Regions from separate parts of the Homo sapiens genome. Here all the other regions are linked to region 2. Evidence: promoter capture Hi-C in human tissues and cell types (Jung and others, 2019). All regions are on one chromosome and are shown on one strand. Each heading gives the region's core, a stretch centred on a gene start or on the middle of the fragment in contact. The rest is flanking DNA. Distances are from core to core; before and after follow the strand shown.

Region 1 (4,911 bases), core at 123-2,622, 390 kb before region 2:
TTCTCCCTGATCTCCACATAACTGCTCCATCCTTGTCATATGAATCTCAGCTTAAATGCCACCTGTTCAGAGGCCCTTTCTGAACACCCAAGTAAGTCTCTGTTAATTCTCACAGCAGCGCATATTTGCTTTTATTATTATTATTATTTTGGAAACAGGGTCTCATTGTGTCGCCCAGGTTGAGGTGCAGTAGCATGATCACGGCTCACTGCAGCCTCAACTTCTGGGATCAAGCAATCCTCCCACCTCAGCCTCCCGAGTAGCCGGGACCACAGACACATGCCATGAAGCCCAGTTAATTTTAAATTTTTTTTTATAGAGATGGGGGTCTTGCTATGTTGCCCAGGCTGGTCTCGAACTCCTGGGCTCAAGCTATCCTCCCAACTTGGCCTTACTTGGGATTACAGGTGTGAGCTACTGTGCCCGGCTGCTGCTATTTTTTATGCCTTGCTTTTTGTTCATTTCCCTCCATTAGAATAAAAAGGATCATTTGTTGTTGTATCTTGGTGTCTAGAACAGAACGTGGGACCATATCAGGTCCTAAAATTGGTAAATAAAGTGAAAATAGGCTGGGGGGCAGTGGCTCACACCTGTAATCCCAGCACTCCGGGAGGCCAAGGCGGGCAGATCATGAGGTCAGGAGTTCAAGACCAGCCTGGCCAATATGGTAAAACCCTGTCTCTACTAAAAATACAAAAATTAGCCAGGTGTGGTGGTGCATGCCTGTAATCCCAGGTACTTGGGAGGCTGAGGCAGGAGAATCGCTTAAACCCAAGAGGTGGAGGTTACAGTGAGCCGAGATCGTGCCATTGCACTCCAGCCTGGGTGACAGAGCAAGACTCTGTCTCGGAAAAAATTAAAAAATAATAAGCAAATAAAATAAAGTAAGTAACAATATCCCCCCACAATGTCTATTTCAGTTCACCCCCCTCAAATCTTCCCTTCATGGGGATAATGAGTCTACCCCAGCTCTGTACCCTTCCCTCTTTCACTCTCCCAAGACTCACGCTGCCTCCCCAGAAGAGCCGCCCACGGCCCTTCAGCTTGGAGAAGACATACACCACTTGGCCCCGGTGAATGGTCAGGAATCGGCAGTCGGGGGCCATGTAGTCCTGAAGGGCCACAGCCATGGAGATAGGGTCTAGGGAAGGAATAGAAGGGAATGCAGCACCCTCCACACAGGCTAACGCCCAAGCCCCCAATTCTCCCCTCCCCATTCTTACGGCTGCACTCCTGGTCCGCACACAGCTTCCGGTCAGCCAGCTTGGGCATAGGACCACCCCTGACACCAGGTCCGGAGAAGGCAGACAGCAAGATGATGACACCAAGGCACACCAGGGACCGGGCCATCGTGGACTGTGAGCAAGAGAGTGAGCAAGGGGGTGCTGGGGTCTCCAATTTCCTCCCCTCCCTCTCTCCCGTAGTACAAGGAAACTTGTGTTCTTGGTCTTGTCCCCGCCCTAAACCAGTCCCAAACTTCGCCCACACCACCTAGAAGTTGCTATGAAACCAGAACCATTTCAAGGATAGGGTAAAGGCTGTAAGCCCAAGGAAATTCCCAGATAAGGTCCAAAGCAGCTCACAACTTTCCCAGTGACAGCCCCCTCCTCAACAATCACAGAGGCCTAGATAAGGTGGTTGAAATATTCAATTCCATCTTCTCTTGAGTTGGCTTAGGTACCTGGGCTCCTCCGCTGTCCCCTCTGGCCACAGAAGCGGAGGAGCCTGTAAAGAAAACCACCTTGGAATTTCCTGTGCTGTGGGGCAGGAGAACAAGGCAGCCCTTTGATTACCAGAAACAGCCCAGCCCTTGAGTACTGACTGAATATTGTATGCTGAACCTTAGGCTAGGCAAAGTCCCACCATGATCACTATTCCTCTGCACCAGACGCTTCCCACTGGATGACCTGGGCTAAGCTATTTCTCCTCACAAAGCCTCAGCTTCCTTATATGTAAAATGGGAACAATAAAAAAGCCAATAGTTACAGAGCATTCACCAAGTACATATTTATGTTATGAACTCAAATGGATACTCTGTATCATGTCAGGAGGAGTGATTATAACCCCTCCCTTTTTTTTCTTTTTTGAGACAGGGTCTCACCCTGTTGCCCAGGTGGAGTGCAATGGTGCCATCCCGGCTCACTGCAGCCTCAACCTCCTAGACTCAGGCAATCCTCCCACCTCAGCCTCCTGAGTAACTGGGACTACAGGCACAAGCCACCTATGCCCAATTAATCCATTTTTTTAAATAATTATTTTGAGGTAGAGTCTTGCTCTGTTGCCCAGGTTGGAGTGCACTGGCATGATCCTGGTTCACTGTAGCCCCTATTTCCTGGGCTCAAGCATTCCTCCCACCTCAGCCTACCGAGTAGCTGGGACCACAGACATGTACCATTATGCCCAGTTAATTTTTTGTATTTTTTGGTAGAGCCGGGGTTTCGTCATGTTGCCCAGCCTCGTCTCAAACTCCTGGGCTCAAGCAATCTGCCCACCATGGCCTTCCAAAGTGCTGGGATTACAGGCATGAGCCACCAAGCCCAGCCTAATTTAATTTTTTGAGACAGGATCTTGCTGTTGCTCAGGCTGAAGTACAGTGATGTGATCATAGCTCACTGCATCCTCAAACTCCTGGGCTCAAGAAATCCTCCCCTCTCAGCCTCTCGAGTAGAATAGTAGGCAAGTCACCATTCTTGGATGATTTCTTTTATTTTTATTTTTCTAGAGCCAATGTCTTACTGTGCTGCCTGGGCTGGTCTTGAACTCTTGTCCCCAAGTATCCTCCCGCCTTGGCCTCCCAAAGCACTGGGATTACAGGCATGAGCCACCAATGCCTGGCCTATAACCCCTTGTTACATGGAAATGGAAGTGTGGAGTTAAGGAACTTGTCTAAGGCTTACAGAGCCAGGAAGTGGAGAAGTGGAGAGGCTAAGACTTGTATCCAGGCCCACAGCCATTGCTATGCTATCTTTTTTTTTTTTTCTTTTTTTTCTTTGAGATGGAGTCTCATATTGCAGTGGTACAATCTCAGCTCACTGCAACCTCCACCTCCCGAGTTCAAGCAATTCTCCTGCCTCAGCCTCCCGAGTAGCTGGGATTACAGGCATGTGCCACCATGCCCGGCTATTTTTGTATTTTTAGTAGAGACAGGGTTTGTCCATGTTGGCCAGGCTGGTCTCGAACTCCCCACCTCAGGTGATCCACCCGCCTCGGCGTTCCAAAGTGCTGGGATTATAGGAGTGAGTCACCGCGTCTGGCCTGAAAGATTTTTTTTTTTTTACAGGCAGGGTCTCACTCTGTCACCCAGACTAGAGTGCAGTGCCACAATCACAGCTCACTCAGCCTTGAACAACTGGGCTCAAGCTATTCTCCCACCGCAGCCTCCTAAGTAGCTGTGACTATAAGTGTGAGCCACTGCACCTGGCTTTGAAATGCAATTTCTTTTTTTTTTTTTTTTTTTTTGAGACATTGTTTCGCTCTTGTCACCCAAGCTGGAGTGCAATGGCACGATCTTAGCTCACTGTGACCTCCCCCTCCCGGGTTCAAGTGATTCTCCTGCCTCAGCCTCCCAAGTAGCGGGGATTACAGGCATCTGCCACCATGCCCAGCTAATTTTGTATTTTTAGTAGAGATGGGGTTTCACCATGTTGGTCAGGCTGGTGTCAAACTCCTGACCTCAAGTGACCCACCCACCTTGGCCTCCAAAAGTGTGGGGATTACAGGTGTGAGCCACCGCACCCGGCCCCACTTTAAAACACTCTTTAAAAAATTATTTCTTCATTCAGGCCAGACATGGTGGCTCACTCTTGTAATCCCAGCACTTTGGGAGGCTGAGGCAGGCGGATCACTTGAGGTCAGGAGTTTTGAGACCAGCCTGGCCAACGTGGTGAAAATACAAAAATTAGACAGGCATGGTGGCACACACCTGTAGTCCCAGCTACTTGGGAGGCCGAACCAGAATCACTTGAAACTGGGAGGTGGAGGCTGCAGTGAGCCAAGATCACGCCACTGCACTCCAGCCTGAACGAGAGAGTGAGACCCTGTCTCAAAAAAAAAAAAAAAAAAATCCGCCGGATGCAGTGGCTCACACCTGTAATCCCAGCACTTTGGGAGGCTGAGGTGGGTGGATCACCTGAGGTCAGGAGTTCAAGACCAGCCTGGCCAATATGGTGAAACCCTGTCACTACTGAAAAATACAAAAATGAGCCAGGCATGGTGGCGCATGCCTGTAGTCCCAGCTACTCAGGAGGCTGAGGCAGAAGAATTGCTTGAACCTGGGAGGTGGAGGTTGCAATGAGCCAAGATCATGCCACTGCACTCCAGCCTGGGTGACAGAGTGAGACTCTGTCTCAAAAAAAAAAAAAATCATTTCTTCATTCATTGAAGATTTCATGAGTACATAAAGTATCCTAGGACTTAATCCAGACCCTGGAGATTCATCAAGGAATGAAAATTAAAGGGGAGATAATCAATGAACAAAGTTCAGATATATGATAGTGTGTGAAGTATTAAGGATACTCAGAAAGAACACTCAAGAATCAGCTGTGGGAACCGTGCCCCCTGCCCCATATTACTGATGAAGCCACAAAGAAATAGAAGTGACTTCAATTCCCAAAGCACAGTGCATGTATCTCCTGCTGCATAATTAGCCTAAGACCAACATTGCCCCAGTGCAGTGGCTCATGCCTGTAATCCCAACACTTTGGGAGGCTGAGACAGGAGGATTGCTAGAGCCTAAGAATTTGAGACCAGCCTAAGTAACACAGGGAGACCCTTGTACCTACAAAAAGAAGAAAAAAAGAGAAAAACTAGCTGTGCATGGTGGTACAAACCTGTAGTCCCAGCCACTCAGGAGGTTGAGGTGGGAGGACCACTTGAACCCAGGATGTAGAGGCCGCAGTGAGCCATGATCGT
Region 2 (5,130 bases), core at 2,338-4,837:
GCCATGTATTTGTCTCCTCTGTGTGCATAGGGGGCAGGGAGGGGCAGGAGTGGGTATAGGGGAGATGCAGAGAAGGCAGTCTCCAAAGAGGAGGTTCTAGGGGTCGCCTGAGCCTGGCCTGAGGGGAACCTCTGGTGTGAGGGGAGAAACCGGTCATACCTGGTCTGAGAAGAGTCAGGGCGGGTTGGGCGCAGTGGCTCATGCCTGTAAGCCCAGCACTTGGGAGGCCAAAGCAGGAGGACTGCTTGAGCCCAGGAGTTTAAGACCAGCCTGGGAAACATAGGGAAACCTCATCCCTACAAAAAATACAAAAAATATCCAGGCATGGTGGCCCGTGCCTGTAATCCCAGCTACTCGGGGGGCTGAGGTGGGAGGATCACTTGAGCCCGGGAGGTCGAGGCTGCAGTGAGCCTTGATGGTGCCCCTGCACTCCAGCCTAGGCAACAGAGCCAGACTGTTTCAACAAAAACAAAAACAAAGACTCAGGATGGCCTTGGGACAGGCCGTGGTGGGAAGGGAGACGTCCCTAGCCCTTGAGAATTCCCAGGGGTTGTTAAAGAGGACTCTGGGATGTTCCCTGGCAGAGCACAGCTTCGGGACCCCTCTGCCAGGAAGCCTGCCTGTCCTGGGGGACCCACTCCTACCAGGCTGGTTGCTCCCCACCTGCCCTCTGCCGGTGAGGGCACTTCTGCACATCCTGGCCTTCTCTTTCCTGTCTGGCTGGTTTGACTGCCCTGTCCACTCTGGCCCCACCCAGGAAGGCTGCTCCTGGTCCCCTCAAAGCCTCTACCCCAGAAACACAGCCGCCTCTTGGAACTAGGTCCCAGGGTCCTCAGCACCTGTCAGTGCTGGTCTCAGCTCCCAGGGGCCATGGGCCATCCATCCCTGCCATCCCAATTCAGGATCTAAGTCCTGAGGCTCCCAGCAGGGCCTCCAGCCTCCTCCATGTCTCTCTGTGATGTCCCACACTGGACTAAGGAGACTCAATATCCAGTCCCAAGTCTCGCCCCGACAGCCCCCCACTCTCCTCACATCTCCCTATCCTGTCTCAGTGGATGAGGGGCCTGGCAGAATCCCCCACTCACTTGAGTACCTTGTCCCTTCCAGCCAGCCCTCCTCAGGTCACTGTCTCACCACACACTTTTTCTTTGCCCCCACCAAACATGGCAGGAGTTATCTACACTCACAGTGCACCCCCATTTCCAAGACCCCAGCATTTGGGGTTTTCCTCCTACCTTGTCTGTGTCAGCAGTGACCTCCCCGTGGCCACGCCTGAGGGTTTCCTTTGTCTCTCTTGTCCTGACTCTTCAAGGCCCCTTCGATCTTCCTGACACTTGCTCCTCTTCCCCACACCTCTCTCTCCCCGTGCTCCTTGGGCACCGGAGGTTCCTCCCGGGCCCTTGTCCACCCCCACACCCTCCCTAGGGTGCATCACCCTCCCCCATGGCTTCCACGCCTCCTCTCTGTGCTGACAACTCCCAAACTCTCTCCTGCATCCCCTTGGGGACCCAGCAGCTTCTGCACCCCTTCTCCAGAGGTCTCCTGGTTTTTAGGAGGTTGTGTGGGTGGTGGTTCAGAGTTTGGCGCTGGAGCCAGGCTGCTTAGGGTCAGAGGCTGTCTCTGGCAGTCACTTGAGTGACCTTAGGCATTTTATTTTATCATTTATTTATTTATTTTTATTTTTTGAGACAGAGTCTCACTCTGTTGCCCATGCTGGAGTGCAGTGGTGCAATCTTGGCTCACAGCAACCTCCGCCTTCCAGGTTCAAGCGATTCTCATACCTCAGCCTCCCGATCTCAGCCTCCCAAGTAGCTGGAACTACAGGTGTATACCACCATGCCCAGCTAATTTTTGTATTTTTAGTGGAGTTGAGGTTTTGTCATGTTGGCAAGGCTGGTCTCAAACTCCTGACCTCAGGTGATCCGCCCACCTTGGCCTCTCAAAGTGCTGGGATTACAGGCGTAAGCCACCACTCCTGGCCAGGCACTTTAAAAACTTCTTTGTGCCTTGATTTTCTCTTCCATAAAATCCCTACTTTGTATGTTGTAAGGATCAGATAAGACTTCTAAAGAACTTCATCCTTGTTTAAATGTTTTGATGTTACATTTTCTTTTACTTTTTTTTTTTTTTTTGAGACGGAGTTTCACTCTTGTTGCCCAGGCTGGAGTGCAATGGCGCAATCTTGGCTCACTGCAACCCCACCTCCCGCGTTCAAGCAGTTCTCATACCTCAGCCTGCCGACCTCAGCCTCTTGAGTAGCTGGGACTACAGGCATGTGCTAACACACCCGGCTAATTTTGTATTTTTAGTAGAGACGGGGTTTCTCCATGTTGGTCAGGCTGGTCTCGAACTCCCGACCTCAGGTGATCCACCTGCCTCAGCCTCCCAAAGTGCTGGGATTACAGGCATGAGCCACCGAGCCCGGCCCGCTGTTAAATATTCTAATCTGGCTGGAGTGGTGGCTCATGTCTACAATCCCAGCACTTTGGAAGGTTGAGGCAGGAGGATCACTTGAGGCCAGGAGGATCACTTGAGACCAGCCTGGACAACATAGTGAGACCCCATTTCTACAAAAAATTAAAAAGATAAATAAAAATGAACACTTTTTTTTTTTTTTTGAGATGGAGTCTCGCTCTGTCACCCAGGCTGGAGTGCAGTGGTGCAATCTCGGCTCACTGCAACCTCCACCTCCCGGGTTCAAGCTATTCTTCTGCCTTAGCCTCCCGAGTAGCTGGGACTACAGGCGCCCTCCACTATGCCTGGCTAATTTTTAGTATTTTTAGTAGAGACAGAGTTTCACCGTGTTAGCCAGGATGGTCTCGATCTCCTGACCTTATGATCTGCCTTCCTTGGCCTCCCAAAGTGCTGGGATTACAGGCGTGACCCACCGCACCCAGCCAAAAATAAATACATTTTCTAATTTGGCCTCAACATCTCCCCCAAGCTGCTTCTTATCCATGTCCATTTCTCGGGGACTGCCCCTTCATCCCAGAGCCCTAGGCCCGTTCTTAGACAGCTCCCGCCTTTCCCTCAAACCGTCGGTCTCACGGCTGCTTCTCCTGGCCTTTTGAGTGTCTCATCCATTGGCCTCGCCCTCTCCTCCCCAACCTCTCCCATCTGTGCCCTGTCCTGGACTCTTTCCCTGGCTTGGGGCTTCCACTCTTACCCGCTCCAACCTATCCCTTTTCATACAGTAACTTTCTGACACTCATATCTGACCCTGCCCTCCCCTGCTCAAAGCCCTTCTGTGGCTCCCCAGTGCCCTCAGAACAGAATCCAAACTCCTTAGCCTGGCATTCAGGGCCTTTTACAACCTCACCCCACAGTAGCCACAGACTGGGACAGGAGTTTTCTGAACACAGACACACACACATCACATCTCCCAAGCTCAAGAAGCCCACCTTTCCTCACTCCTGCCTTATCCCCATTCCTGTATGCCCAAGGCCCACGATTAGACCCCCCTCTGTCAACACTTCACCTGTTTGGTCTTTGCAAGATTCCGCCACTGGGCGGGGGAGGGGGCCCAGCCTGGTACCCCACCCCCACTCCAGCCAGGGCTCAGGTCTCCAACAACAGAACCAGAGCCACTCAACAGCGCTGGAACCCATTCGGTGGGGCCTGGGGCCCCTCATCCCAAGCCAGGAGGGTTTCTGGGGAGGGGTGCAGCCCCTGGCAGACTGACAGTGTGGCCTGGGGGTTTGGGGGTGCCAGGGAAGCAGGGGCCAACCTCATAGGAGGAGACACGAGTGCGGTTCTCTTTCCCCCACTGGGGGGCCTGCTGTGTCAGCAGCCAGGCGGGAGGCCTGGGCGGCAGAGCCAGTGGTACAGGGGCCTGGGCAGGGCGGTGTCTGGCAGCAGCGGCACCATGTCCACCATCCAGTCGGAGACTGACTGCTACGACATCATCGAGGTCTTGGGCAAGGGGACCTTCGGGGAGGTAGCCAAGGGCTGGCGGCGGAGCACGGGCGAGATGGTGGCCATCAAGATCCTCAAGAATGACGCCTACCGCAACCGCATCATCAAGAACGAGCTGAAGCTGCTGCACTGCATGCGAGGCCTAGACCCTGAAGAGGCCCACGTCATCCGCTTCCTTGAGTTCTTCCATGACGCCCTCAAGTTCTACCTGGTCTTTGAGCTGCTGGAGCAAAACCTTTTCGAGTTCCAGAAGGAGAACAACTTCGCGCCCCTCCCCGCCCGCCACATCCGTACAGTCACCCTGCAGGTGCTCACAGCCCTGGCCCGGCTCAAGGAGCTGGCTATCATCCACGCTGATCTCAAGCCTGAGAACATCATGCTGGTGGACCAGACCCGCTGCCCCTTCAGGGTCAAGGTGAGTAGGGGTCGTCTAGGGTGGCTGCGTCCCTAGTTCCTTGTCTTTTTCCCAGCTTCTTCCAGCCCTAGATTTTTTTTTTAATTTTTTAAAATTATTATTATTATTATTTTTGAGACGGAGTTTCATTCTGTTACCCAGGCTTGAGTGCAGTGGCACAATCTCAGCTCACTGCAACTCCGCCTCCTGGGTTCAAGTGATTATCCTGCCTCAGCCTCCCGAGTTGCTGGGATTACAGGGATGCGCCACCACGCCCAGCTAATTTTTTTTTTGTACTTATCAGAGACGGGGTGATGATGGCATGATCTTGGTTCACTGCCTCCGCCTCCCGGGTTCAAGCGATTCTCCTGCCTCAGCCTCCTGAGTAGCTGGGAATACAGGTGCCCGCCACCCATGCCCGGCTAATTTTTGTATTTTTAGTAGAGATGGAGTTTCGCCATGTTGGCCAGGCTGGTCTCAAACTCCTGACCTTGTGATCCACCTGCCTCAGCCTCCCAAAGTGCTGGGATTACAGGCGTGAGCCACCACGCCCAGCCAATTTTTGTGTTTTTTGGTAGAAACAGGATTTCATCATGTTGCCCAGGCTGGTCTCAAAGTCCTGAGTTCAAGCAATCTGCCCACCTTGGCCTCAACAAAGTGCTGGAATTACAAGTGTGAGCCACCATGCCCAGTCCTCTGTCTGCTTTTGAGTTTGATACTGTCTGGATGCTTCTGAACCAGGGGCACCCTGAGGGCAAGGCTGGGGCTGACTTAATCATCGCTGTGTCCCTGACATCTCCCAGCACTGCAGTCATGGAGCC
Region 3 (4,592 bases), core at 2,054-4,553, 300 kb after region 2:
GTGAGCCGAGATTGCACCACTGCACTGCAGCCTGGGCATCAGAGCGAGACTCTGTCTCAAAAAAAAAAAAAAATTCTACACTTTCTTCTCTCCTCATATTTTACATTATTGATGTCATAATTTGTACCTTTTTTATTTTTTTTGAGACAGAGTCTCACCCTATCACCCAGACTGGAGTGTAGTGGCATGATCTCAGCTCACTGCAACCTCTGTCTCCAGGGTTCAAGTGATTCTCCTGCCTTAGCCTCCTGAGTAGCTGGGACTACAGGCAAATGCCACCACACCCAATTAATTTTTGTATTTTTAGTAGAGAAGGGATTTTACCATGTTGGCCAGGCTTGTCTTGAACTCTTGACCTCAAGTGATCTGCCCAACTCGGCCTTCCAAAGTATAATTTGTATCTTGTATATATCATGTACCCATAGGCAAATTGTTGTAGTTATAGTCATTTTTAATCCTTTTAGCTTGTTTTGTTTTGTTTGGGACAGAGTCTCACTGTCACCCAGGCTAGGGTACACTGACATGAACATAGCTCACTGCAGCCTCAAACTCCTGGGCTCGAGTTATCCTCATGCCTCAGCCTCCTGAGTAGTTAGGACTACAGCTCTGCACCACCATGCCCAGCTAAATTTTTTTAAATTAAAAAATTTTGTTTGTTTTGTAGAATTAAGGTCTCACTATGTTGCCCATGCTGGTCTCAACTCCTGGCCTCAAGCAATTCTCCCACATTGGCCTCTCAAAGTTTTGGAATTGCAGGTGTGAGCCACTGCACCTGGCCTGTCTTTTAACTTTTAAATGACCTGTCTTCAAGCTCATTAATTCTTTATTCTGCTTAAGTCTGCTCTTCAGGCATTCTATGGAATTTTTCAGTCTGTTATTGTGTTCTTTAGTTCCAGAATTTTTGTTTGCAAAAATTTGCTATGTTTTCTATCTCTTTTTTGAACTTCTAATTTTGTTCCTATATCATTTTCCTGATTTTGTTTAGTGTTTATCTGTATTCTCTTGTTTGCTCACTGAGTTTCTTTAAAACAGTCATTTTGAATTCTTTGCCAGGCATTTTGTAAATGTTCATTTCTTTAGAGTTGGTTACTGATGGTTTATTTTGATTTGTGTTGGTGTCATGTTTTCTTAATTATTCATGATCTTTGTGAACTTGCTTTGGTGTTGAACATTTGAAGAAGTAGGCATCCCTTCTAGTCTTTACAGACTAGCTTTGGTAGTGAAAGCCCTTCATCAGAGATATTGGGTGGGCTGTATAGAGAAGTTTGTGGGTGGGATTACTGCTGAAGTTATCAGACATGCTGGTCTGGTGCCAGGGTCAACAAATGGATAGGCCTGAGGACTGTCCATGGGAACCAGCCTGAAGTCTGGGTCCACAGAGGTTGACCTGGTGCTGGGGTGGTCTGGACATAGGCCCATAATATGCCTTGGTCTTGAGCTCATAGGGGTCACCCTGCTTCCAGGATCCGCTTGGGCAGGCGTGGACCCTGGGTCCACTGGAGCATAGGGTCACAAGAACCAGCCTGGAGCTTGGGTCTGGTCTGGGGCATATTTGGGTCTGGATTCCACAGGGGTCAGTCTGAAGCTTGAGGCTGTGGGTGCTGTCCTAGGGATATGGAGGCCAGCCTGGAGCCTGTGTTTTTAGGTGTGGTTCTAAAGCTTTGGTCTCTAGGAGCTGGCCTGGCACTTGGGGTCTCCTGGGCCAGGTCTGGATATTGGATGCGGTGGAGTGGGTTTGAACCCTGGGTTTGTCAGAGTGTAGGACCATGGGAGCCAGCTTAGAGACTGGAGCCACAGGGGCTGGGTAGGCTGACAGCCTGTATCCATGGGGGTTATCCTGGAGCTTGGATCTGTGGGTGCCAGCTTTGTGCCTGGAGCTGAGGGTGCCACCTTGGAGTTTGGGTCAAGGGGGCCAGCTGGTCATTGGGTTTCAGTGGAGTAGTCCTGCTGCCAGGGTCCACAGCAAAGTTGGTGTTCACTTTATTCATCCTCTAACACGGAGGGTATCTCACCACACTATAATTTCTGGGCTGGGCTTGGGAGAGTGATGGACTAGGTAATGCAAAACGCTCCTTCTTAGCCTCTTTAATGTATCTTTTCCTGTTTCTGTGCTACAGCAAGGTGCTCTAATCTCTTACTTGGATACTTTAGCTCTTGTGAAAGTTTGTTCATGAGTAAACAGATGTTTAAATTGATGTGAGGGCTAAGTGCTGGAAAGTCCCATTCTCCAATCTTGCTGACATCACTCCTCTTAAGATTTTCTATTTCTTCTTGAATCAGTGACAGTTTGTGTAAAGAATTGTTCCTCATCACACACTGGGGCCTGTCGGGGGTGGGGGACTAGAGGAGGGATAGCATTAGGAGAAATACCTAATGTAGATGACAGGTTGATAGGTGCAGCAAACCACCATGGCACGTGTATACCTATGTAACAAACCTGCACATTCTGCACATGTATCCCAGAACTTAAAAGTATAATAATAAATAAATATTGCAAAAAAAGAATTGTTCCTTTCCATTTAGTTTATTTTGTTGGCATACAATTGTTTATAATATTCTTCTATAATCATTTTCATTTCTGTAAGGTTAGTAATGTCTCCACTTTCACCTCTGACTTTAGTAATTTGAGTCTTTTCTATTTTTTTCTCAGTCAATCCAGCTAAGATTTTGCTACTTCTTTTGATCTTTTCAAAGAACCACTTTTAATTTTGTAATTTTTCTGTATTATTTTTCTATTCTCTATTTAACTCCACTCTTATTTTTATTATTTCCTTCCTTTCTTGTCTTCTATTTATTTATTGTTTTGCTATTTTTCATGTTCTAATTCCTAAAGTTGTACAGTTAGGTTGTTGATTTGACATCTTTCTTCTTTTATATAGGCATGTAGAGCTATAAATTTTTCTCTTAGTAATAAGCATATCATAAACTTTGGTAACATGTGTTTTTATTTGTATTTATCTAAAATATTTTCTAAATTTTTGTATTCATTCTTTAATCCTTTGGTTGTTTAAGATTGTGTTGATTTGGCACAAGACAAAGATGTCTTCTCTTACCACTCCTATTCAACATAGAAATTCAACTGAATTTCAGTTATCAGAACTGGCCAACATGAAGACAATGGGATTTAGTCCTACAAATTAAGAAAGAAACTGAATGAATTAAGTCATGAAATATCAGATGGCATACAGGATTTAATTTTGAAATTCTTCAATTTTACTGAGGAATTTCTTCAGCTATGGGAATAGTCTTTTGATGATGCTCCAATTTTTAACTGGATCAATTTGCAATTTGTGTCAGAATGGAGCGCAGTTGAGAAGCCTTATGTTACTGCAGCATCTAAATTTGGCTTAACATTCAAAGGAATCATAAATAGAACCAATATGTTTGCCTTGTAAAGATAATTATCAAAGAAATGTACCCTTCTTAGGGTACAAAAAAGAGATGGCAAAAAAAGAGATGTACCTTGAAGGCAAGATACATTAACTACAAGAATATGAACTGCAATCTAATTTTTCCATATTCAATATTCACAATACTTGTGAGGATATCTTCCATTTCATTGGATATATTCTGAGACTTCTGGTTACCTTAGTATATACAGAGTATATATCTCAGTTTAAAAAGTATGGTGTTCAGAGAAGAGTCATTTGAAGGTAGCTATAATTTTGAGTTTATTAAACATAAAGTCCAACATTGAAGATTGCATAAAATTTTATCAAAATTTAAAAATAATAGACCACATTGAAAGAAAATACTTAAAAAGAATGGTGATATTGGTTAGGAAATCGATTAAAGTATCAGAATATACTTAAATATAATTATTCTCCGCTTTATTCTAATGTTTAGTCAACATAAATAGCTTAAAAATTTTTTTCCTTACTACAAAATTGTTATTTTGCTTTAACGTATATATGTTATTGTTTCACCCTTTAGGATATAACAGAATATTATAATTAATACAGGAATTTTTCAAACATTACATAATTTCAATTACCTTAGTATTCATACCTTTTCGAATTTGTACTACTTTGGACAATATATTATATATTCAGCTATTATTGAGTTCTAATTTAATTCCATTTTTGTCAAAGAATATGCTTTGTATGACTCGAATCCTCTTACATTTATTGAGACTTGTTTTATGGCCCAGAATATGGCCTATACTGGTAAGTATCCCCTGTCCACATAGATGAATTTTACTGTCATTGAGGAGAGTGTTCTCAAATATAAATGAGATCAAGTAAGTTGATATGTAGCTCAAATCTGCTATACCCTGTTGCTTTTCTGTGTTTGTTCTATCAATTACCAAGAGAGATATATTGAAATATCTGACTATAATTGTGGATCTGTCTCCTTTTCGATCTAATAGATTTTTCTTCCCATACTTAGAAGCTTTGCTTTTAGGAGCAAAATTTATGTTTGTTTTTTTCTACTCGATGAGCTATCTCCTTTATCATTATTATGCCCTTCTTTATCTCTGGTAATAGTCTATGTCCGGAGTCTACTTTGTTTTTAATAAAGCCACTCCAGCTTTCTTTTGACTAGTGTTAGGATGGTGTATATTTTTCCATCCTTTTACTCTTAACCTTTTA
Region 4 (5,310 bases), core at 2,662-5,161, 270 kb before region 2:
ATGTTGGCCAGGCTGGTCTGGAACTCCTGACCTCAGCGATTTGCCCACCTCGGCTTCCCAAAGTGTTGGGATTACAGGTGTGAGCCGCCGCGCCCAGCCCAGTATTTTTGCTATTATTATTTTGGAGGCAGGGGTCTCACGCTGTCACCCGGGCTGGACTGCAGTGGGGCAATCATAGCTCATTGCAGCCTTGAATTCCTGGGCTCAACCAATCTTCCCACCTCAGCCTCCTGAGTAGCTGGGACTATAGGCGTACACCACTATGCCCAACTGATTTTTAAATTATTTTGTAGAGATGGGGGTCTCGCTATGTTGTCCAATCTGGTCTGGAACTCCTGGCCTCAAGCGATCCTCTTGTCTCTGCCTCCCAAAGTGCTGGGATAACAGGCGCCCGGCCCCATCCTACCTTTTTGGTCTAAGTTCAGACGGCTCTTCAACCCCCCCAGACTGAGTCAGCAGCACCCACTCTCCCCTTGGATCCTACAGGCCCCTCTCCTCCCCTATCCCAGCCCTGACCCATCTGCCTGTGCCTCCCCCGTCCTCTCAATGACTCATTCTGGGCTGTCACTATCTGGTGGCAGGTCTGTCTGCCTCACTGGACTGTGAGGGAGAAGGGGGTCTGGGGCGTCTCAGTCACTTCCCCGTGCCAACACAGGGCCAGGCACAGAAGAGGCAGCCTCAGTGTTTCCCCTCTGCAAACCACTAGGAAGTGAGAGGGGCAGAAACGGCCTAGGACTGGGACAGAGAGGATTTGAGCAACTGGAAGGATGGGGAACTGAGGTCAGAAGCACGCAGCAAATCTGGGACACAGTCAAGGCACCCCCACCCCGTCCCTGACTGATCTCTTCGTTCAACCACCCTTCCTTGCGCCCAGAGCAGCCTTTCTCAGAGCTGCCCCCACAACGGTTCCCGCGGATGCAGATGGAAGGGGGCCGTCCCGGGGAGGACCTCCCACAGGCTCCTCTTGGCCCATTTCCCATCTTCCCTCCCACGCCCAGGATGGAGACTCTGGCTCTCCACGGAGCTTTTCGCTCCAAAGAGGCCCTGGAACCCGGATCAACCGCCCACTCCCACTTCTCCAGGTTTCAGCCCGCTAAGAATAGACCAGGGACATCGCACTGGAAAGCCCCGCCCTACCCAGGAACCCCATCCCACACAAACGCCTATCGAGGTCATTTTGGGGGAACAGGAGGACGTCCCCCTGGGGCCGGTTCTGCACTCCTCTCTCCCGTTCTTTGGGAAGCTCCGCCCTCCGTTGCAGCCCCGCCCCTCGCGGCCGCCCCCTTTCCCGGAACCGCCCCCGGCCGCGCAGGCTATTTTGATGCATTCCACGGGTGACAGAGCCGGGCGCCCCCACCCCGCTTCCTGTTGGGTGATTTTGTTTTGTTTTGTTTTGTTTTTTAAAGCTCCACCCCCAGGAGGCCACAGTTTCTCCGGGAGCCGGCCGCGCAGGACCGGGGACAGCCCTGGCCCCTCGCTGCACAGCGCTGGGACCGCCCCACGGAGCGCGGCGTCTCATGCTCCCTGGGGCCCGCTGCTTCCACTGCCCTGCGCAGGGCCACGCGCCACCCCGGGCTGCCTGGCCGTAACCTACCCCGTCCACCCTCCAGGCGCGCTCGCCGACCTCCCGCACCTGTGGGGCCACGTGGTTGCCGGGAGCGCTCCTCTAGCGTGGTGAAGCAGCGCCCCCTCGTGGTCTTGCGCTCGCGGCGCCTGGGCGGCCGCCCCTCCAAGACTTTGCTAAGGCAGGAAAAGTGTTTAAGAAAAATTAAAATTGTGCTGGGCGCGGTGGCTCACGCCTGTAATCCCAGCACTTTGGGAGGCCGAGGCAGGTGCATTACCTGAGGTCAGGGGTTCAAGACCAGCCTGGCCAAAATGGCGAAACCCCGTCTCGACTAAAAATGCAAACATTAGCCGGACGTGGGGGCGGGCGCCTGTAGTCCCAGCTACCCGGGAGGCTGAGGCAGGAGAATCGCTTGAACCCGGTAGGTGGAGGTTGTAGTGAGCCGAAATCGAGCCACTGCACTCCAGTGATAGAGGGAGACTCGGTCTCAAAAAAAAAAAAATTGCTGTCGCATTCATGAACATTATACTTCAGGCCCTGGCTCAGCCATTCACCCCTCTGGGAAGTCCTCCCTGACTGGTCGGGCGCCTCCTTTGGGCTCCTATGGTTCCTTATGCTCCTCAACTGGGCCTGTACCTCCCCGCCCTGGCCCGGATCCGTCTGCCTGTACATCTCCCATCTGGACCTCGACCCCTTTGCCCTCTGCCTGCACCTCACCAGTCCCCGCCCCGACCCCTCTGCCTGTGCCCCCCATTCCAGCCCAACCTCTCTGCCCGGGCTTCCCCCATCCTGGCCTCCCACCCCTCTGCCTGTCCCCTCCCCACCATCCCGCCGTGATGGCTCTAGGCTGTCACTGTCTATAATGGGTCGGCGTCCCCGCCCTGCACAGAAAACCTCATGAGGGCAGGGAAGAGAGCTGTCTTGATAACTACTGAGTCCTCAGTATTACCAAGGTAACATTTATTTCCTCCCTCAACACTGGTTTTGTTTTAACAGCTTTACTGAGGTATAATCTACCTGTCATAAAATTCACCTATTATAAGTGATTTACTGATTTTGGGTGATTTTACAGTTCTGCAGCCATCACAGCCAATTCAAGAACATTTCCATCACTCTGAAAAGATCCCTTCTGCCCATTTGCAGTCGCTCCCTATTCCCTGTCCCAGCCCCAGGCAACCACTGGTCTACTTTCTGTCCCATACATATTCTCTTCTTCATTTTACAAGCATTTTCTGAATATTTATTTTTATCAGCTATTGAGGGCTGAGGGTACACAATGAAACTCACAGGCCCTGCCTTCAGGGAACTCAGAGTCTGGTTATTGTAATAGCTGATGGGAAAATATGTCCATGCACTAATTTCTTCATTCATTCAAAAAACATTTATTGGCCAGGCACTGTGGCTTGTGCCTGTAATCCCAGCACTTTGGGAGGCTGATTGGGGAGGGTCACTTGAGGCCAGGAGTTCAAGACCAGCCTGGAAAATATAGTGAGACCCCCCCCCCCACCCCGATCTCTACAAAAAAATTTTTTTTTTTAATTATCAAGGTGTGGTGGTGCACACCTATAGTCCCAGTAACAGGAAGCTGAGGTGGGAGGATTGCTTGAGCCCAGGAGGTCGAGGCTGCAGTGAGCCATGATTGTGCCACTGCACTCCAGCCTGGGTGACAGAACAAGACCATCTCTACAGAAAAAAAAAAAAAAAAAAAAAAGAGAGAAAAAGAAGGGTCTTCCAAAAATTCATGGAAAATGTGTATTATGAAAAAACTATGCATGGAGTTCAATTTTTTTTTTTTGCACCAAAATAAATTCATACTAACTTGTTATAACTTGTCTGAACAGGACCTAGTTTGAGACACTAAAATAAAACATCAGATTGAAAAGAGCCCCTATCAGAGCAACACGAATTCTAAAATTGAAGCAAGAACAAGCATCAAATTGATGGTGAAGCTTGGGTGGAAGAATGATGAAATCATTGATGTTTTCCAAAAACTTGACAGTGCCCCAGAGAAATCAGCCATTTACAAATGGATAACTCGTTTTAAGAAGGGACAAGTTCGGGCGTGGTGGTTCACGCCTGTAATCCCAATACTTTGGGAGGCTGAGGCCAGCGGATCATTGGAGCTCAGGAATTCGAGACCAGCCTGGGTAACATGGTGAAACCCCATCCGTACAAAAAATACATAAATTAGCTGGGTGTGGTGGTGCACACTTGTAGTTCCAGCTACTCAGGAGGCTGAGGTGGGAGGATCACTTGAGTCTGGGAGGTAGAGGTTGCAGTGAGCCGTGATTGCGCCACTGCACTCCAGCCTGGGTCATGCTGAAGATGAAGCCCACCGTGGCATACCATCCACATCAATTTTTGCAGAAAAAAATTAAATTTGTTTATGCCTTAATTAAAGAGGACTTACAGTTAACAGCAGAAACAATAGCCAACACCATAGACATCTCAATTGGTACAGCTTACACAATTCTTTTTTCTTTTTTTTTTTTTTTTTTTTTGAGACAGGGTTCTCATACTGTCGCCCAGGCTGAGTACAGTGGTGAGATTGTGGCTCACTGCAGCCTCAACCTCCTGGGCTCAAGCGATCCTTCCACCTCAGCCTCCGAAGTAGTTGGAACTACAGGTGCGTGCCAGCACGTTCAGCTAAGTGTCACACGCGTCCCTGTGAAGAGACCACCAAACAGGCTTTGTGTGAGCAACAAGGCTGTTTATTTCACCTGGGTGCAGGCAGGCTGAGTCCAAAAAGAGAGTCAGCAAAGGGTGGTGGGATTATGATTAATTCTTATAGGTTTTGGGATAGGCGGTGGAGTTTGGAGCAATGTTTTGCGGGCAGGGGGCGGATCTCACAAAGTTCATTCTCAAGGATGGGAAGAATTACAAAGAAACTTCTTAAGGGTGGGGGAGATTACAAAGTACATTGATCATTAGGGTGGGGCAGAAACAAATCACAATGGTGGAATGTCATCAGTTAAGGCTATTTTCACTTCTTTTGTGGCTCTTCAGTTGCTTCAGGCCACCTGGATGTATACGTGCAGGTCACAGGCGATATGATGGCTTAGCTTGGGCTCAGAGGCCTGACACTAAATTTTCGTATTTTTTGTAGAGATGGGGGTCTCATTAGGTTTCCCAGGCTGGTCTTGAACTCCTGGACACAAGTGATCCTCCTGCCTCATTCTCCCGAACTGCTGGGATTACAGGCTTGAGCCACCTCACCCGGCCTCAGCTTACACAATTCTGACTGAAATTAAAGCTAAACAAACTTTCCACTCGATGGGTGCCAGAACGGTCGCACCCAGATCAGCTGCAGAGAAGAGCAGAGCTTTCCATGGACATGCTAAACAAGTGAGATCGAGATCCTAATGCATTTCCTTGAAGGATTGTAACGGGAAATGATACATGGTTTCACGGGTGCAATCCTAAAGACAAATCGTAATCAGAGAATGATTGCCAAGAGCGGGGAAGTGATCCAGTCAAGGCAGAAGCACACTGGTCAAGAGCAAAGGTCATAGCAACAGTTTTTGGGGATGCTCAAGGCATTTTGCTGGTTGACTTTCTGTAGGGTCAAAGAATAATAAGATCTGCTTATTATGAGAGTGTTTTGAGAAAGTTAGCCGAAGCTTTAGTAGAAATAAGCCTGGGAAGCTTCACCAGAGAGTTCTTCTCCAGCATGTCTACGCTTCTGCTCATTCTCCTCATCAAACGAGCAATTTTACAAGTTTTGATGGGAAATTATTAGGCATCCA
Region 5 (5,269 bases), core at 170-2,669, 370 kb before region 2:
CGAAAGTGCTGGGATTACAGGCATGAGCCACTGCGCCTGGCCAGGAAACCCCATTTCTACCAAAAATACAAAAATTAGCTGGGCATGGTGGTGCGCACCTGTAGTCCCAGCTACTCAAGAGGCTGAGGCAGAAGAATCGCTTGAACCCAGGAGGCGAAGGTTGCAGTCAGCTGAGATGGCACCACTGCACTCCAGCCCAGGCAACAGAGCAAAAAACAAAAAACAAAAAACAAACAAACAAAAAAAAATTCAGACCTTATCAGGAGCTTACTGAGAAACACAGAAATATCTTGGCCTTAACTTCCTTGTCTGAAAAATGGGGATTATGATACTTCCCACTTCAAAGGACTGTTGTGAGGACTAAATGAGTTAAAGTGCTTGGAACAGTACCTGACACACAGTAAGCAAGTGTTCAGTAGAAAGGCTGTTGGTATTTTTAAGGGAAGCTGGAACAGCAATAAACATCAGGCCAAAGGACCGAGGAGACAATGCTAGGAGAGGAGTGCAGTGCAGGGGGATTTCCTGTCACACAAGAATACTTCAGTCTTCCAGGTTCAATCTCACTCACTTAGCTGTTTAAGGAGAACCTGCCAGATGCCAGGCGCCATTCAAGGCTCTGGGAATAAAGCAATGAACAAAATAGACAAAAACCCCTCTTTCATGGTGCTTATTCAGTAGGGGAAGGTATGTTAAAGATTCTTAGTGTGGCACAGTAGCTCACGCCTGTAATCCTAGCACTTTGGGAGGCTGAGGCAGGCAGATCACTTGAGCTCAGGAGTTTGAGACCAGCCTGGGCAACATGGCGAAACCCCGTCTCTACTAAAAATAAAAAAATCAGCCAGGTATGGTGGCACGTGCCTGTAATCCCAGCTACTCAGGAGGCTGAGGCAGGAGAATCACTTGAACCCGGGAGGTGGAGGTTGCAGTGAGCCAAGATTGCACCACTGCACTCCAGCCTGGGCAACAGAGGAAGATTCTGTCTCAAAATAATTTATTTATTTATTTATTTATTTATTTATTTTTTCTGAGACAGAGTCTCACTCTGTTGCCTAGGCTGGAGTGCAGTGGCAGGATCTCGGCTCACTGCAATCTCTGCCTCCCGGGTTCAAGCAATTCTCCTTCCTCAGCCACAGGAGTAGCTGGGACTACAGGTGCATGCTGCCACACCGAGCTAATTTTTGTATTTTAGTAGAGACAGGGTTTCACGGTGTTGCCCAGGCTGGCTGCAAACTCCTGAGCTCAGGTAATCCACCTGCCTCGGCCTCCCAAAGTGCCAGGATTACAGACGTGAGCCACCGCCCTCGGCCAAAGAAAAGATTTTTAAATGAGGCAAGGTGCAGTGGGAGCCTGGTCCAGCCTCACCTTGGCAAATGAACCGTAATATCCCCTCCTCTAATCCAGGCCCGCCCAGTCTCCTATAACATTTTACACACCCACACAGCCTCCGTACCCGCAATGCTCACCATAGGTTTGTCATAGAAAGGGAAACCCTGCATGGAGCGCAGGGCGTTGGTGGCGCTGCTGACCTCCTTGAAGATGACAAAGGCCTGGCCCCTCATCTTCAGGCTCCGTGATACCAGGATATCCAGGATCTGGCCAAACTGGGAGAAGATGGCGTACAGGGACTTTTTTAGCTCTGCAGTGGGGGAAAAAAAGACCTTTGAGCTCCCCTTTTTAGAAGAAGCGCAGCCCAAATAGAAGACCATCAGCCAATTGATGGGGTACCCAGAATGCCTCGGGTCCATAATCTCTCAAGACCTAACAATCACAGAAGCAGCCAGGAACCACTCAAGTGGCCAAGTACACTCTTCTACTCTTCTGTAAGATGTGCTTACAGAGAGCTGCTATATAATGAACATGTGCACATACATGCAAAGTGCTCAGGACAGCATCCGGCACGTAGTAAACACTCGATAAATGAGTGATTCTTTTCACTGCCACCAGCACCCTGACATGGGCCTGCATGACGTGGCCCTGGCAGATTTCCCCCACCTCATCCCTGCCCACATTCCACCGCCCTCCTGAGTTCCCAACCACACTGGCCCCCAGGTCTGACACACCAATTTTGCCCCAGGGCCTTTGAACTGGCTGCTCTCTTTACCTGGAACATCCCTCCCCTGAGGTTTACATGGTGGCCTCCTTCTAGTCACCCAGTCTCAGAGGAAATGTTGCCACCTCTGACCACGACGTCTAAATTTCTTCCCATGTCATTCTTACTCTACTTCCTTTTCTTTCATGACTATTTCCCACCTCCTGTCATGGTACGTTAACTTGTCTATCTTGCCTGAGGAGCTATAAGCCTGTCCCATTTGTTTACTGCAGTATGCCAAGCCTAGCACAGACTCCACCACAATTTTTTTTTTTTTTTTTTGGTGACAAGGTCTCACTTTGTCACCCAGGCTGGAGTGCAGTGGCATGATCATGGCTCACCGTAGCCTCAACCTCCCGGACTCAAGCGGTCCTCCCACTTCAGCCTATGGAGTAGCTGGGACCACAGGTGTATGCCACCATGCCCAGCTAATTTCTGGATTTTGTGCAGAGACAGGGTCTTGCTATGTTGCCCAGGCTGGTCTTGAACTCCTGAGCTTCAGCAATTAGCCCACCTTGGCCTCCGAAAGTGCTGGGATTACAGGAGTGTGCCACCACACCTGGCTGCAAACATTTGACTAGATACCATCAAGTGCCTTTTTTTTTTTTTAAAGACAGAATCTCCTTCTACTGCTCAGGGTGGAGTTCAGTGGCATGATGGTAGCTTACTACAGGCCTGACCTCCCAGGCTCAAGCAATCTTCCCACCACAGCCTCCCAAGGAGCTGGGACCATAGGCACGCAGCACGACGCACGGCTAATTTTTTATTTTTTGTAGACACAGTCTCCTATGTTGGCCAGGTTGGTCTTGAACTCCTGGGCTCCAGTGATCCTCCTGCCTTGGCTTCCCCAAAGTGCTGGGATTACAGGCATGAGTCATCGCACCCCCATCAAATGCTTTATGGAGGTAACTTCACTTCCTCACAACAAACCCATTAGGTGGCAACTATGACTGTCCCAATTTTACTGGAAACAGGTTCTCAGAGGATTCCTCACTGGCCCAGGGCATCAATCTGGAGGGCATAAGGAAGCGTATGGCAGAGCCCAGTCCACGTATTCCATCTGAACCCGGTACCACCACATCTCACCAGCAAAGGGCATCACTTGACAGCAAGTGAGATTCAAGCTCAACAAGGATGGACTCCCTCTCACCACCCAGGTCTGCAAAGGGCACCAATGTCTTATGCAAAGAAGATGGCTGAGATGGCCAAGCATGGTGGCTCACACCTGTAATCCCAGCACTCTGGGAGGCCGAGGTGGGCAGATCCTTTGCACTCAAGAGTTCAAGACCAGTCTGGGCAATAGGGTGAAACCCTGTCTCTACAAAAGATACAAAAATTAGCCAGGCATAGTGGTGCATGCCTTGTGGTCATAGCTACTTGGGAGGCTGAAGTGGGAGGATCACTCTAGCCTGGGAGGCAGAGGTTGCAGTGAGCCATGACCTCACCACTGGACTCCAACCTTCATAAAAACTGGCCAGGCATGGTGGCTCATGCCTATAATTCCAGCACTTTGGGAGGCTGAGGCAGATCACGTGAGGTCAGGAGTTCAAGACCAGCCTGGCCAAGACGGTGAAACCCCGTCTTGACTAAAAATGCCAAAAAAAAAAAAAAAAAAAAAAAAGAAAAGAAAAAAAATTAGCTAGGCGTGGTGGAGGGCGCTTGTAATCCCAGCTACTGGGGAGGCTGAGGCATGAGAATAGCTTGAACCAGAGAGGCAAAAGTTACAGTGAGCAGAGATTGCGCCACTGCACTCCAGCCTGGGTGACAAATCGAAACTCCATCTCAAAAAAAAAAGCTAAGCTGAAGCAGAAGCCACTTGTAAAATAGATACCAGGCTAGGAAAGAAGCAAGAAAATGTGTAGGCTGGGTGGGGGCAGGGACAGCAGTCAAGGTTGTTTTTAAGCAATTAGTCAAAAATTCTCCTGGTGGTGACATTTCTGGTTTTCCTCTCCGTACTCCATCCCCATGAATCTTGCTCAGACTTCACTCATTCCACGGGACTCTGGGCCTCTCTCTACTCTCCAGCCTCCCCTCGCCCATTCGCATTTACCCTCCACAGCTGGGAGGATATTCCACCAGGGAGGCAGCCAGGACAGGGAAGCAGTCTGGCTCCCCAACACCCTCAGGGCAAAGTCCAACACCTCACAGCCATGAGCCACCAGTGCACAGCTCACTGGAAGTTTCCCCATGATTTACAAGCCTCAAAACTACTTGTAATACTCAGAATACGCCAGGCTCTTTTGACCCTAAACATCTGAACAAGCTGGACCAAGTTAAGAATGCTCTTCTCCCTCAGTGTAACATAAATACTGCTTACTGTACCTGGCAGGCTCTCCAAAATGTCTCCTTTTCCTGGAAGCTGAATGGATCTCTCTGTCTTTCTAAGTTCCCAATCCCAGCCCTCAACACTCTGCCTAAGCTTCCTGCCTGATGGCCCTGACTACTCTGGGCTGTCACTGTCCTAAAGAACCAGGGTTCTGGCCGGGTGCGGTGGTTCACACCTGTAATCCCAGCACTTTGGGAGGCCGAGGCGGGTGGATCACAGTTCAGGAGTTCGAGACCAGCATAGCCAAGATGGTGAAACCCCGTCTCTACTAAAAATACAAAAATTAGCCAAGCGTGGTAGCAGGTGCTTGGAATCCCAGCTACTCAGGAGGCTGAGGCAGAGAATCACTTGAATTCGGGAGGCGGAGGTTGCAGTGAGCTGAGATCGCACCACTGCATTCCAGCCTGGGCAACAGAGCGACACTCCGTCTCATCTCAAAAAAAAAAAAAAAACGCCGGGCGCTGGGGCTGACGCCTGTAATCCCAGCACTTTTGGAGGCCAAGGTGGGCAGATCACGAGGTCAGGAAATCAACACCATCCTGGCTAACATGGTTAAACCCCTTCTCTACTAAATATACAAAAAATTAGCCGGGTGTGCTGGTGGGCGCCTGTAGTCCCAGCTACTCGGGAGGCTGAGGCAGGAGAATGGCGTGAACCCAGGAGGCAAGGCAGAGCTTGCAGTGAGCAGAGATGGTGCCACTGCACTCCAGCCTGGGCGACAGAGGAAGACTCCGTCTCAAAAATAAATAAATAAATAAAATAAGATTTAAAAACAAAAAACCAGGGTTCTATGTCACCAATGTGTCCCCAGCACTGCCCGATAATGGTTGGGCACCACACTCTAAAAACATATG

What was found. The method cuts DNA at HindIII sites, captures the fragments that hold promoters and counts their contacts. A contact is called where the count stands out against the background at its distance.
Region 1: a contact is called between the fragment with the promoter of MIA here and the fragment with the promoter of HIPK4 in region 2, in 1 of the 25 tissues and cell types used here (spleen).
Region 3: a fragment that was not itself captured here is called in contact with the fragment with the promoter of HIPK4 in region 2 in 1 of the 25 tissues and cell types used here (dorsolateral prefrontal cortex).
Region 4: a contact is called between a fragment that was not itself captured here and the fragment with the promoter of HIPK4 in region 2, in 2 of the 25 tissues and cell types used here (bladder and spleen).
Region 5: a fragment that was not itself captured here is called in contact with the fragment with the promoter of HIPK4 in region 2 in 1 of the 25 tissues and cell types used here (dorsolateral prefrontal cortex).

What each region holds. Positions count from the first base shown.
Region 1 is chr19:40,771,982-40,776,892 of GRCh38, reverse strand. MIA (MIA SH3 domain containing) reads right to left here and starts at 1,372. Exons shown (of 4, transcript NM_006533.4): 1 at 1,224-1,372; 2 at 1,008-1,141. The coding sequence starts at 1,350. MIA-RAB4B (MIA-RAB4B readthrough (NMD candidate)) reads right to left here and starts at 1,356. Exons shown (of 10, transcript NR_037775.1): 1 at 1,224-1,356; 2 at 1,008-1,141. The HindIII fragment of the contact is 14,863 bases long and covers 1-4,911 here.
Region 2 is chr19:40,388,638-40,393,767 of GRCh38, reverse strand. HIPK4 (homeodomain interacting protein kinase 4) reads left to right here and starts at 3,587. Exons shown (of 4, transcript NM_144685.5): 1 at 3,587-4,330. The coding sequence starts at 3,866. It also overlaps a transcript of PRX not described here. RefSeq lists enhancers at 3,135-3,684, 3,685-4,234. The HindIII fragment of the contact is 19,093 bases long and covers 1-5,130 here.
Region 3 is chr19:40,092,323-40,096,914 of GRCh38, reverse strand. No RefSeq gene overlaps it. Among named protein-coding and RNA genes, the nearest start is that of ZNF780A, 3.7 kb to the right of the region's middle. RefSeq lists an enhancer at 2,181-2,270. The HindIII fragment of the contact is 3,361 bases long and covers 1,623-4,592 here.
Region 4 is chr19:40,659,310-40,664,619 of GRCh38, reverse strand. No RefSeq gene overlaps it. Among named protein-coding and RNA genes, the nearest start is that of NUMBL, 29 kb to the left of the region's middle. RefSeq lists a silencer at 1,423-1,702. The HindIII fragment of the contact is 4,666 bases long and covers 1,579-5,310 here.
Region 5 is chr19:40,753,699-40,758,967 of GRCh38, reverse strand. SNRPA (small nuclear ribonucleoprotein polypeptide A) reads right to left here. Exons shown (of 6, transcript NM_004596.5): 2 at 1,464-1,636. Among named protein-coding and RNA genes, the nearest start is that of SNRPA, 5.1 kb to the right of the region's middle. RefSeq lists an enhancer at 3,759-3,898. The HindIII fragment of the contact is 9,764 bases long and covers 1-5,269 here.